Linked DNA regions of Homo sapiens: all the other regions are linked to region 2. The links are contacts of gene promoters, found by promoter capture Hi-C in human tissues and cell types (Jung and others, 2019). All regions are on one chromosome and are shown on one strand. Each heading gives the region's core, a stretch centred on a gene start or on the middle of the fragment in contact. The rest is flanking DNA. Distances are from core to core; before and after follow the strand shown. Region 1 overlaps SNX1 (sorting nexin 1). Region 2 holds the start of PIF1 (PIF1 5'-to-3' DNA helicase). Region 3 overlaps SNX22 (sorting nexin 22).

The links. Contacts are between HindIII fragments. The study calls those that stand out against the background at their distance.
Region 1: a fragment that was not itself captured here is called in contact with the fragment with the promoter of PIF1 in region 2 in 1 of the 25 tissues and cell types used here (hippocampus).
Region 3: a contact is called between a fragment that was not itself captured here and the fragment with the promoter of PIF1 in region 2, in 1 of the 25 tissues and cell types used here (neural progenitor cells).

Annotation. Positions count from the first base shown.
Region 1 is chr15:64,103,100-64,106,850 of GRCh38, reverse strand. All of the region lies in intron 1 of SNX1 (sorting nexin 1), which reads right to left. Among named protein-coding and RNA genes, the nearest start is that of SNX1, 9.0 kb to the right of the region's middle. RefSeq lists a silencer at 1,367-1,661. The HindIII fragment of the contact is 7,036 bases long and covers 1-3,751 here.
Region 2 is chr15:64,824,397-64,828,589 of GRCh38, reverse strand. PIF1 (PIF1 5'-to-3' DNA helicase) reads left to right here and starts at 2,943. Exons shown (of 13, transcript NM_001286496.2): 1 at 2,943-3,021. RefSeq lists enhancers at 2,681-2,810, 4,000-4,193. The HindIII fragment of the contact is 20,575 bases long and covers 1-4,193 here.
Region 3 is chr15:64,156,849-64,161,017 of GRCh38, reverse strand. It overlaps SNX22 (sorting nexin 22), which reads right to left. Exons shown (of 7, transcript NM_024798.3): 7 at 3,537-4,169. It overlaps PPIB (peptidylprolyl isomerase B), which reads left to right. Exons shown (of 5, transcript NM_000942.5): 3 at 821-914; 4 at 4,109-4,169. Among named protein-coding and RNA genes, the nearest start is that of PPIB, 4.1 kb to the left of the region's middle. The HindIII fragment of the contact is 7,647 bases long and covers 1-4,169 here.

The DNA of each region.
Region 1 (3,751 bases), core at 748-3,247, 720 kb after region 2:
AAGGTGTCAGTAGGGCTGTGTTCCTTTCTGGAGGTTCTAGGAAAGAATCTGTTTCCTTGCCCTTTCTGGCTTCTAGGGTTCTTTGCCTCACGGCCCACTTCTTCCATCTTCAAAGCCAGTAACATTTCATCTCTTTGCGTCTCTTCCATATCGTCTTTCATAGCCTGTCTTACATTTTTAAGGATCCTTGTGATTACACTGTCCCAGCCAGATAATCCAGGATAACTTCCATATCTTAAGGTCAGCTGATTAGCAATCTTAATTCCATCTTCAACCTTAACTCCCCCTTGCCACATAACCTAACATACTCACTGGTTGCAGGATTAAGATGTGGACTTCTTTGGGAAAAGGAAGGGGGGCATTATTCAGCCTACAGCAGACAGTGACTCCTCTCCCACCACGTTTCAAAACTGGCACAGATGCACTAAAAGTATTTGTGCTTGGGAGAATGGACATTCAATGTCCACTGGATTTCAGAATAGGGTGTACCTAACTCTACAAACTAGAGTTTAACTCCATAGCTTAAGGAGTTAAACTAGGGGTTCTTATCTTGGGGTCCATTAGCCACATACTTCAGGGGGTAATCTATGAACTTGGATGGGAATAAAATTATTATAATTTCATTTTCATTAACCTTGAACTGAAATTTGGCATATACATTAATCATAAAGATAAGCAACAAACCATAATAGAAGTACCTGAGATTGTAACTGATATTAGATATTTTTATATGAGATTATGGTTTTTATAGATCTCAAAGTCTCATTTATGCTCATCTCTATTTAAGTATGTTATTAATGTAAAATCATTTTAATTTATTAAAACTGAATTTCAATATAATTGGTTTCCTTCATATTTTAATGTATTTTATTTCATACATTTAAAAACATTATTCTGGGGATGTGTCCACAGGCTTTACAGGGCCTGCCAATTGGCCCACAGCACAAAAAAGGTAAAGAACTTCTGAGATACAGAGTAGAGGGACTAATGAAAATGGAAAAGGGAGAGCTGGAAGGATGGGGAAAATAGCATGAAGCTGACCACTGAGCTAGTTAAGGAAAATCATGTGCAAGGCCATTAGAGACCTCATGAGACCCCAGATTTAGCCTCAGACATTCTACTGAATTCTCTGGTTTAATTTCCCAACTAAACTTTTTGGGTCTCAACCTAACAAAACTTAGAAAGGGCCCAGAAAACCGCAGAAGAATCACAGTATTAATGGGTGGATTACCTTCTAAATTGAAAAAGCAAACCCAGTTCAAATCTGCTCTGAAAGCAGAATGAAGCTCCAGCTGTCCACGTGACGAAGCAAAAGAATAAGCCAGAAAAAGTTGAGCAACAGCTTTTCCTGGAGATGAGATACTTACGGCTACTTGCTCTAGTAACTATCAACTACTCATGATTTATTTATGTCAAAAGTTACTTGAGTGCTGAGAAGCTTGAGGACCAAGGAAGAGATATCAGATTTTTTTTTCTTTTCTCCAGTCCAAACTAATGAACTACAAATGGCCAAGTTGTCAGAGTGGCCTTACCACCTAAGTAAACAATGGGTTGGCAACCCTTACAGAAACCAGAAGTCTGACGGCAACCTTTATTGTTTCTCTCATAAGCCCCTAATTTTTTTTTTTTTTTGAGACAGAGTCTCGCTGTATCCCCCAGGCTGGAGTGCAGTGGTGCAACCTCCACTTCGCGGGTTCAAGCGATTCTCATGCCTCAGCCTCCTGAGTAGCTGGGATTACAGGCACGCACCACCACGCCTGGCTAATTTTTGTATTTTTAGTAGAGACAGGGGTTCGCCATGTTAGCCAGGCTGGTCTCGAACTCCTGACCTCAGGTGATCCACCCACCTCAGCCTCCCAAAGTGCTGGGATTACAGGCGTGAGCCACCGTGCCCGGCCCCAAACCCTACTTTTAAATAAATTTTAAGTCAGGTTATTATTAGCCATCTTTTTTTTTTTTTTTTTTTAAGATCAAGTCTTGCTCTGTCGCCCAGGCTGGAGTGCAGTGGCGCAATCTCAGCTCACTGCAACCTCTGCCTCCCGGGTTCAAGTGATTCTCCTGTCTCAGCGTCCCAAGTAGCTGGGATTACAGACATGCGTTGTCACACCCAGCTAAATTTTGTATTTTTAGTAGAGATGGGGTTTCACTATGTTGGCCAGGCTGGTCTTGAACTCCCAACCTCAGGTGATCTACCTGCCTTGGCCTCCCAAAGTGCTGGGATCACAGACATGAGCCACAGTGCCCGGCCTATTAGCCATCTTTAAAAGTCTTCTCCCTGGGCCGGGCGCAGTGGCTCACGCCTGTAATCCCAGCACTTTGGGAGGCTGGGGAGGGTGGATCACAAGGTCAGGAGATTGAGACCATCCTGGCTAACACGGTGAAACCCTGTCTCTACTAGAAATACAAAAAAATTAGCCGGGCGTGGTGGCGGGCGCCTGTAGTCCCAGCTACTCGGGAGGCTGAGGCAGGAGAATGGCATGAACCCGGGAGGCAGAGCTTGCAGTGAGCCAAAATCGCGCCACTGCACTCCAGCTGGGGCGACACAGCGAGACTCCGTCCCAAAAAAAAAAAAAAAAAACCCTTTACTCCAAAACTGGTGTTCTATAATTACTTTTATTAGCTTTTCCTCCATAATTCTGAAAGCTAAGTTAATTGCTAGTACAATACAATGATCAAGAAATTAATGAGTTTATGTATTTCAGGGAAATCTAAACTTATGCGAAGTAAAACTTTACTATTTGAGCTGAGCACTAAAATGAGTCTTTGCATATACCTATCACTTTTTTCAAGAATATATTTACCACAAGGTAGAATTTCAACTTCTGATCATTTGACCAGATGTGACCACTTGATGTATGTTAACTCCAAAAACAAGTGTTTGAGGCAATATCCCTGTAGAAAACACTACACACTAGAATTTTTACCAATATTAGCTATAAATGACTAAACTAGTAACTAAACAAACTAAGTGATACACCTTTGTTTAAAGATACTGTTATAAAGATTCACTTTCAGAAGTCTGATTAAGATCAGAGAAGGGCTAATATCAAGAAACTTAATGAGGATGTGTTATATCTTTGGGAACAACCACCATGCATGTTTCACAGAACAGAGAATTAAAGTATTAGCCAGATTAACCATCATTTTTCTTATGGCTTTTTAATAAAACTACCAAACTCTATAACCACTCAGAGAAATAAACTGTTTATAGTTAACAATCTTTCCATAAAGCATAAACAAAAATACCAAGCCTGAACAGTTTTATAGGTACCACCAATTTTTAAGAAACAGATCATTCCAATAGTATAAACATTCTCGAAAGAATAGAAGAAATTACCATATAATCTTAATTCCCCAAACCATACAATTTTCATGAGAAAGAAACTACAGGTTTATCTTATGAACGTAGATGTAAAAGAATATATAATAGCAATCCAAACCCAGCAATGTATAAAAAAAGACATTATTAAAAATACAAAAAACAACAAATGCTGGCAAGGATATGGAGAAAGGGGAACACTCATACACTGTGGGTGGGAATGTGAAGTAGCACAGCCATTATGGAAAACAGTATGGAGATTACTAAAAGAACTAAAAATGTAACTACCATAGCATCCAGCAACCCCACTACTAGGTATGTATCCAAAAGAAAGCAAATATATCAAAGCATATATATTTCTTCTGCATGCCCATGTTTATTCCAGCACACTATTCACAACAGTCAAGATATGGAATCAACCTAAGTGTCCAT
Region 2 (4,193 bases), core at 1,694-4,193:
CTTTCATGAAGCTAGGCCAGTCACCTTGAGGCAGAAGAACAGGGTCTGGAGGCAGGGAACCTAAGGCTGTTTCACGCCGACTTCCTAGAATTAAATTAAAAGGAAAACCCGGCTGGGCACAGTGGCTCACACCTGTAATCCCATCACTTTGGGAGGCCGAGGCGGGCAGATCACAATGTCAAGAGATTGAGACCATCCAGGCCAACATGGTGAAACCCCGTCTCTACTAAATATACAAAAATTAGCTGGGCATGGTGGCATGCACCTGTAGTCCTAGCTACTTGGGAGGCTAAGGCAGGAGAATCGCTTGAATGGGGGAGGCAGAGGTTGCAGTGAGCCAAGATAGCGCCTCTGCACTCCAGCCTGGCAACAAATAGAGACTCCACCTCAAAAAAATAAGAAGAAGAAGAAGAAGAAAAAAGAAAACCCTGGCCGGGCATGGTGGCTCACGCCTGTAATCTCAGCACTTTGGGAGGCCGAGGTAGGCGGATCACGAAGTCAGGAGTTCGAGACCAGCCTGGCCAATATGGTGAAACCCCATCTCTACCAAATATACAAAAATTAAATGGGCATGGTGGCACGCACCTGTAGTCCCAGCTACTTGGGAAGCTGAGGCAGAAGAATCGCTTGAACCCAGGAGGCAGAAGTTGCAGTGAGCCGAGATCCTGCCACTGCACTCCGGCCTGGGCAACAGAGCACAGAGCCAGACGCTGTCTCCCAAAAAAAAAAAAAAAAAAAAAAAAAAAAAAGGAAAACTCTAACTTTCCACTCCTAAGTAAGGACAAGAACAAAAGGACCAAAGGCTACTCCCTTTGACGTTTCCCGCATGGCAGATGGGAGATTGGCAGATGGGAGATTGGCTGTCTGCAACAAATCATAGGAGTGTGGGTCCAGTCTTCGTTTGCAACTTTGTAACTTCACTCCAGCCTCTGAATGGTGGCTGAATGGTTGCTGTCTGCAACCAATCAGACTGATTATCGCTACCACTTCAGTTACATGAAGTAAGCGTAAAGTTCCCAATGGGAAACTTCTAGGGGGTATTTGAACCCAAGAAAATTCTGTATCTCGGGTCCCCTCCCACACTGTGGAGTGTACTTTCGTTTTTGTTTTTTGTTGTTGTTGTTTGTTTTGAGACAAGTTCTCGTTCTGTCGCTCAGGCTGGAGTGCAGCGGCACGATCCAGGCTCACTGTATCTTCTGCCTCCTGGATTCAAGTGATTCTCATGCCTCAGCCTCCCAAGCAGCTGGGATTACAGATGTCCACGACGACACCCGGCAATTTTTGTATTTTTAGTAGAGACAGGGTTTCACCATGTTGGTCAGGGTGGTCTGGAACTGCTGACCTCAAGTGATCCCCCCACCTCGGCCTCCCAAAGTGCTGGGATTACAGGCGTGAGCCACCGCGCCTAGCCGTACTTTCGTTTTCAAAAAATTCCTGCTTTTGTTCTTTTGTTGCTTCATTCTTTCTTTGCTTTGATGGGCATTTTGTCCAATTCTTTGTTCAAAACGCCAAGAACCTGGACAACTTTCAGTCATCACCCTCTACCGCTAACAGACTGGGAGCAGTGTGGTGTAGTAGCTAAGCCCCATGGAGTGATTAAGCGAGCAGGTAATCTGGGTTCAATGTTTGGTTTTGCTCTCCATATCAGCTATGTGACCTTCAGTAAAATCTCTGGAAGCCTTGCTTTTTTCTCATTTGAAAAATAAGGTCCGGGCTCATGCCTGTAATCCTAGGACTTCGGGAGGCCACGGTGGGTGGATCGTTTGACCTCCGGAGTTCGAGACAAGCCTGGGAAACATGGTGACATCCCGTCTATACGAAAAAAAAATTATATATATATATGTGTGTGTATATATATATATGTGTGTGTATATATATATGTGTGTGTATATATATGTGTGTGTATATATGTGTGTGTGTGTGTATATATATATATATATATATATATATATATATATATATATAAATTAGCTGGGTGTGCATCTGTAGTTCCAGCTACCTGGGGGGCTGAGGCGGGAGGATCACCAGAGCCCAGGAGGCGGAGGTTGCAGTGAGCCACGATCGCGCCACGGCAGAGGTTGCAGTGAGCAGAGATTGTGCCACTGCACTCCACTACAGCCTGGGCGACAGAGTGAGCCCTAAGAAGGAAAAAGGAAAGGAAAGGGCAATTTAATCCATGGTAGTTATCATTATCTGTAAAATGAGGTAGCCAGACTCACCTGTAAGATCCTTTCCAGCTATGTAATTCCAAGCTTCAATGAGATAATAAAGATGATTAAAAGTAAATTCTTTCAGCATCCTGTGCAAGAAGAGGGATACAATTTCCCTGAAGACAGAGACTCTACTCGCTTCCGCTGTACCCTCTGGCACGTGGCACAGGTCTCAGAGTTTCTCACTCATGGGCCTCAGGTGGGTGAGAGAGCCAAAGCGTAAAGTCCCTTACAAAGGCAGAGAAGGATGTAGAGTTGGGGGCGGGGGAGGGATTGGGCAGGCCTTGGGGTGGTCTGCCCAGAACTGGACAATGGTACTGTGAGTGTAAACAGGGGTGTGAGAGTCCAAAGGCAGATCTTCCCCAAGGCTAAGCCCAGCCTCTGTGTGCGGGCTAGAGGGGAGAGGGAGTGTGCTGGAAGGATGGTTCTGAAAATAAATCTTCGGAGTCGCGTAGGGTTTTCAGACCCGACACCACGCGCCGCCGGGTGGCTGCCGCAGCGGCGGCCTCCTCCCACCACGCCCAGCCGTCCACTGGATTTGGTATGCTCAGCCACCACCATAAACCTCCTTCCTCTAGCAGGCAATTGGTACAGCCCAAGCTCCTGGAGTAGAGACGCAAAGAAAGACACGCCCATTGTTACGCCCCTACCTCTGAGTGGCTGGAGAATTTAAAGATCCAGTCGGTGATTGGGTGATTTTCTGCCTCTAGCATTTGAAAAATTTCTAGTTTCGGAGCTTAGCCACAGGCCGGCTACGATCTGCTTGTTCATCTGAGTGTCGGCACAAGTGAGTGTCTGCCCGAACCCAGAGGTGGGGAGCAAAGAGCCTGATTTATCTAGGGGTTTCCGGCGGGAGGGTGCAAACAAATGGGTCAGCCTGAGGGAGCACGGCTTCTAGGGTCCCAGGGTCCCCCGCGATTTCCCTAGCCGAATATTTTCCACCTCGTCCCCACCTTGGTGGTGGGAAGCGCGAGGGCATGGGAATCACACTGACTTTGACTACTAGCCGCTGTGGCTTATGAAGGGCAAGTGAGTTTCCCTCTCTTAGCCTGTTTCCACGTCTGTACACGGGGAAGAGTGAGACCTGCCCGCTGCATATAAGCCAGTGAATGTACCTACAAGGCAGAAGTCGCTTATTACACGGCAGCCCTCTTTGCATCTCCCCACGGGCGATTCTCCTGCTTCCTGGGGAGAGTACTCTGAGGATTCATGTGCTCGCCCTGGGTCTCGGGGAAGGAGGATTCTTTCTGCGCAGGGACCCCTGTTCTAGTGAGGTCCTTGCAGGACACCTGAGGCTCCCTAATCCTCGGTGCCCATCCGCCGCTCTGGAAATTGTTGTGTAGCACGGTGTGTGTGTATATGTGTGTGTGTGTGTGTGTGTATATATATAGAAATTGTATATATATTGTGTGTATATATATATAGAAATTGGATATATAGAAATGGAAATTGTGTAGCAGGGTGCGTGTGTGTATATATATATATACATATATATACACACACACACACACATATATATAATGTATGCATATGTATGTATTTATATGTATGTATTTTTTTTTTAATTAGAGGGTGTCGCTATGTTGCCCAGGATGGTCTCGAGTTCCTGGGCTCAAGCGATCTTCCTTCTTCAGCCTCCCAAAGTGCTGGAATTACAAGCGCCCGCCACCACGCCCGGCTAATTTTTGTATTTTTAGTAGAGACGAGGTTTCACCATGTTGGCCAGGCTGGTCTCAGAACTCCTAACTTCAGGTGATCCGCCCACTTTAGCCTCCCAAAGTGCTGGGATTAAAGCGCGAGCCACTGCGCCCGGCCCAGGGCATATTCTAAGGGTGGATTTTCGGTTAGCCCAAAGCCCTTTCTCCGTCTTTGTGACCTCTTTGTGTTACCAGTGACAGTCCTCGTGATCTTGTGTAGCCTTGACCCTGCTCCCTGTCACGTCCTTTATAGCACCCATTACGTCCCCTATAGCACCCATTACGT
Region 3 (4,169 bases), core at 1,670-4,169, 670 kb after region 2:
CTGCACTCTAGCCTGGGCAACAAGAGGGAAACTCCATCTCAAAAATAAAAATAAAAAATAAAAAAACAGGCTGGGCATGGTGGCTCACACCTGTAATCCCAGCACTTTGGGAGGCGGAGGAGGGCAGATCATGTGAGTTTAGGAGTTTGAGAGCAGCCTGGGCACCATGGTGAAACCCCATCTCTACTAAAAATACAGAAATCAGCTGGGCATTGTGGTGGCACATGCCTGTAATCCCAGCTACTCAGGAGGCTGAGGCTGGAGAATCGCTTGAACCTGGGAGGTGGAGGCTGCAGTGAGCGGAGATTGTGCCATTGCACTCCAGCCTGGGTGACAAGAGAGAAACTCTGTCTCAAAAAAATAATAATAAAATTTAAAAAATGAGATAAAAAAGAGTAAGGGGTCCAGAGCTTCCTGGGGAGACTTCACCTAGGGTGAGGGCAGTGGGTTTTAAGGAAACAACAGTGCCCTATTTCAGTTTATATTAACTTTCCATTGAGCCAGCAGGTGACCTTTCTTCTCAGTTTTCTTGTATCTGTTCTTATGATTGGAAGAAATGAGGGGAAAAGCATTATGTGATGTAGAATTGTATAAAGCTTGGGAATTGTATGGAGGCAGAGGGATTTCCACATCTGTGTGTACCATGCCTGTCCTGTGGCGCCTGCCCGCTCACTTAGTAGCACACTGAACAGTGAAAGTGGTCAGCAGTGGTGTCTCTTCTGCGAGCAGGAGTTGTGGACTTGTTCCTGTGAGGCCTATTTAATGTAATGTCTTCCTGCTGCCCCATACCACCTCCTTACCTTCTCTTCCCTTTTTCTAGAAAGGATTTGGCTACAAAAACAGCAAATTCCATCGTGTAATCAAGGACTTCATGATCCAGGGCGGAGACTTCACCAGGGGAGATGGCACAGGAGGTAACCACAGGTCCTCTGGGCCAAGGAGTATGTCAGTGTAGCCTCCACAGTGGGAGGGCCAGGTTCTGCTGGGGAGACCAGGCCTCTTTCTTCCCCAGCTCTAGAGGCAGGCCTACTTATTACTTACCTACTTTGAGACCAGCGGCACCCTTCTTTGAAGAGGGAACCCAGTACAAAGGAGAGAGAATAATGGGGTGGACCTGATGGTAGATCTAAGAGAATCTCTCCCAGGTGACCGTCCTGCTGATCCAGGCCTATAGCCTGGTGACCTTTCCTGATACCTCTTCAGAATGGGGATTGGGGAGAGAGGCGTGTGGAAGCAAAGTGAAGACATGTGGGTACGCGATTCTAGGTCAGATGCCCAAAGCCTGTCCAGGCTACCCTGGAAGCCCCAGCAAGAGTGAGAGGGCCAGGCGTGGTGACTCTGTGATCCCAGCACTTTGGAAGGCCAAGGTGGCTGGATCACTTGAGGCCAGGAGTTCAAGACCAGCCTGGCCAACATGTTGAAACCCCATCTCTACTAAAAATACAAAAGATTAGCCGGGCGTGGTGGCACGCGCCTATAATCCCAGTTACTTGGGAGGCTGAGGCAGGAGAATTGCTTGAACCTGGGAGGCGGAGGTTGCAGTGAGCCGAAATCACGCCACTGCACTCCAGCCTGGGCGACAGAGCGAGACTCCATCTCAAAAAAATAAAAAAAAGAGTGGGAGCAGTTACTTTCCTTGACAGTCTTTCACCAGAGACCACTCTGTGAGGGCCGACCCTCACCTTGGCATTAACTTGCACACATAGGACAGAAAGACCCCCGGACGCCTGCATGAGTCTCACTGAGCTCAGGTACAGCCTGCTGCTCCCTTAGAACACAGCTCACTCCTCGATGAGTGTCTATGGGGCTCTGTGGTGGGGGTTGAGGATGTGAAGACCCATGGGGCAGTGGCTCCCTTTTACTTCCAACAACTGAAAATGTACAAGTGAGCCATGATGCAGCGTTTAGGACTCAGGCTCACAAAGGAGACCAAAGAACTGTATTTGTGGAGTCAGACGCAGTTGGGCTCGATCCAGTGTCTGCCACCTTCTTGTTTTGTGACCTCAGGCAAGTGAGTCCTTGGAGCTTCAGTTTCCTGTTCTGTACAGTGAGGGTGGAGAGAGTTGTGGGGCCATGAGGATTGGGCTAGATCTGGAGTGTGAAGTGCCTGGCATGCAGTGAGTGCTTAGTAAGTCAGCCATTGTTGAAGTGCTGACAAGCAGAGGGATCCCCTCAGGCCAGGGAACGGGGGAATGACCTTGCGGATGTGAGGAAAGATTTCAGTGGGGTCCTCAATGAGGAGAATTTGAACGGGCAGAAAAGAGGCAGGGTTAGGGCATGAGCCCGGTGCTGTTCTGTGGCAGGAGCTTGGCCAAAGGTGGGGTGAGGACATCTGTACCCGGAGTGCAGAGAGGTGGGTGATGTCCTGCAGCCTGGGCTTCGGCCTGCAGGGAGTCAGGGCCACAGAGCTGAGTAAGAGGATGACCCCTCACTTGGGGTGCCAGGGGAGTCATGTGGTGGCAGATCCAGGATGTGGAGGCTAGGGCAGGCAGGCTGCTGGGGGCATTGGTGCCACTGACCCTGGGCAGGGAGATTTGGACCTGATCCTGAGGTGGCTGAGAGCAGAGATTCGAGAGCAGACCACCTTGGTCTGAACTCTAGCCCCGCTGTTGCTCTGCTGGGGCTCCTTTTATTCTCTGTGCCTCAGTTTCTTCATCTTTGAAGTGGAGTTAGCTCCTCCTCATAGAGTGGATTGTTAAATATGTAAGATGCTTGGAACAGTCTCTGGCTCACACTATGAGCACCCTAAGCACTCGCCTACTGCAGCGGTGGTGGTGGGAATGGAAAGAAAGAGTAAGTACATGGGGAGTGGGTAGGGACAACCTGAGCCACGTGCAGAGGAAAAGGGGTCAAAAGAATAACTGAGGTCTGGAGAGAAAGATGACAAGGTATGTTGAGTTTAAATAGAAATGTCCATTTGAGTTTGGAACCCCTGTATCTTGAGAGAGTGGCTGGAGCTAAGGATGGAGATTTGGGGGTTTTCTGGATAACAACTATAATCAAAATCCCACAGTTGGCTCAAATGGGGGAGGCTTTTAGCCAGCACTCCAGCCAGGTCTCACTGCACATGTGGCAGAGTCCAGTCTCCCCAGCGTGGGGGTGAGAGGTGGAGCACAGGCAGAAGCACCCTGTCCCCACCAGCCAGAGTCTGGTCATTCTTGGTTTTCAGTCATCCTACCTGCTGCCCAATCAGAAACATCTTCCTGGTTGGCATCTGTCTAGGACAGTTTCCCAGCTCAGTTCCATTCTGTGGAACCACAGGATGAAGGTAGGTGCAGTGAGAAGGAAAAAAGAGTTTTGCATGCAAATATGTTTGAAAGGTGTTAGATAAAACAAAATGAAAATGACCCCATTTTTGGCTGAGTTTCTTGGGGCCTCATGCACAGTGTCAGTCTCCAAGGGGTGATAGGGAAAAAGAAGGGTTTCGGTGTTCCTCGTGGAAGCAGCTTTGGAACTAGGATCTCTGAAATGGCATAGAGATCACTCCGGATTGCCCTTACCATATCCCCAAGCCCCACGTGGACAGACGCGTCACACACACTCACAGCTGTCTTTTATTCCTGTTCATTCCTTGTTAAGAGGCTTTGACTCTCCAGAATCCAAGGGGCAGCCCCTCTTTTCTGCCCCTCCCCACACATCTCTGGCTGCTTTCTCCTCTGCAGCTATGCCTGTGTCTTTTGTGCTCATAGGAAAACAGGCTGGTCAGCCACAGCAGTCCTCCTTTTCTGGAGAGTTCCGACCCTGTTGACTCCCCTGCATCCTGCACGGCACTTCCCTCCACCAAAGTCCCTCCGTGGCAGGCCTGGGCCATAGCTAAGGGGAGCTGATAACATGCGCCTTATTTAAAAGCCACAAAACTATCTTCTCAAAGTAATCCTTCTGTGAGCTGTTCACCACATCAGCCTGGCCTGATGCCCCACTTGGCCTCAGTCAGCATGGCTTGGCTCTGAGGCCAGAAGATAGGAAGGACGCTGCTTTTATGTCCTTGTAGTCCACTCCAGCCTAGCCTGGCACAGAGGACAGGTTAAGCCCCCTCAGTCCTGGCCCCGAATGTCTGCTTGGTTTGGCGCAATCCAGCGCCCCTGACCTGCTCTGTCTTTTTTCCCAGGAAAGAGCATCTACGGTGAGCGCTTCCCCGATGAGAACTTCAAACTGAAGCACTACGGGCC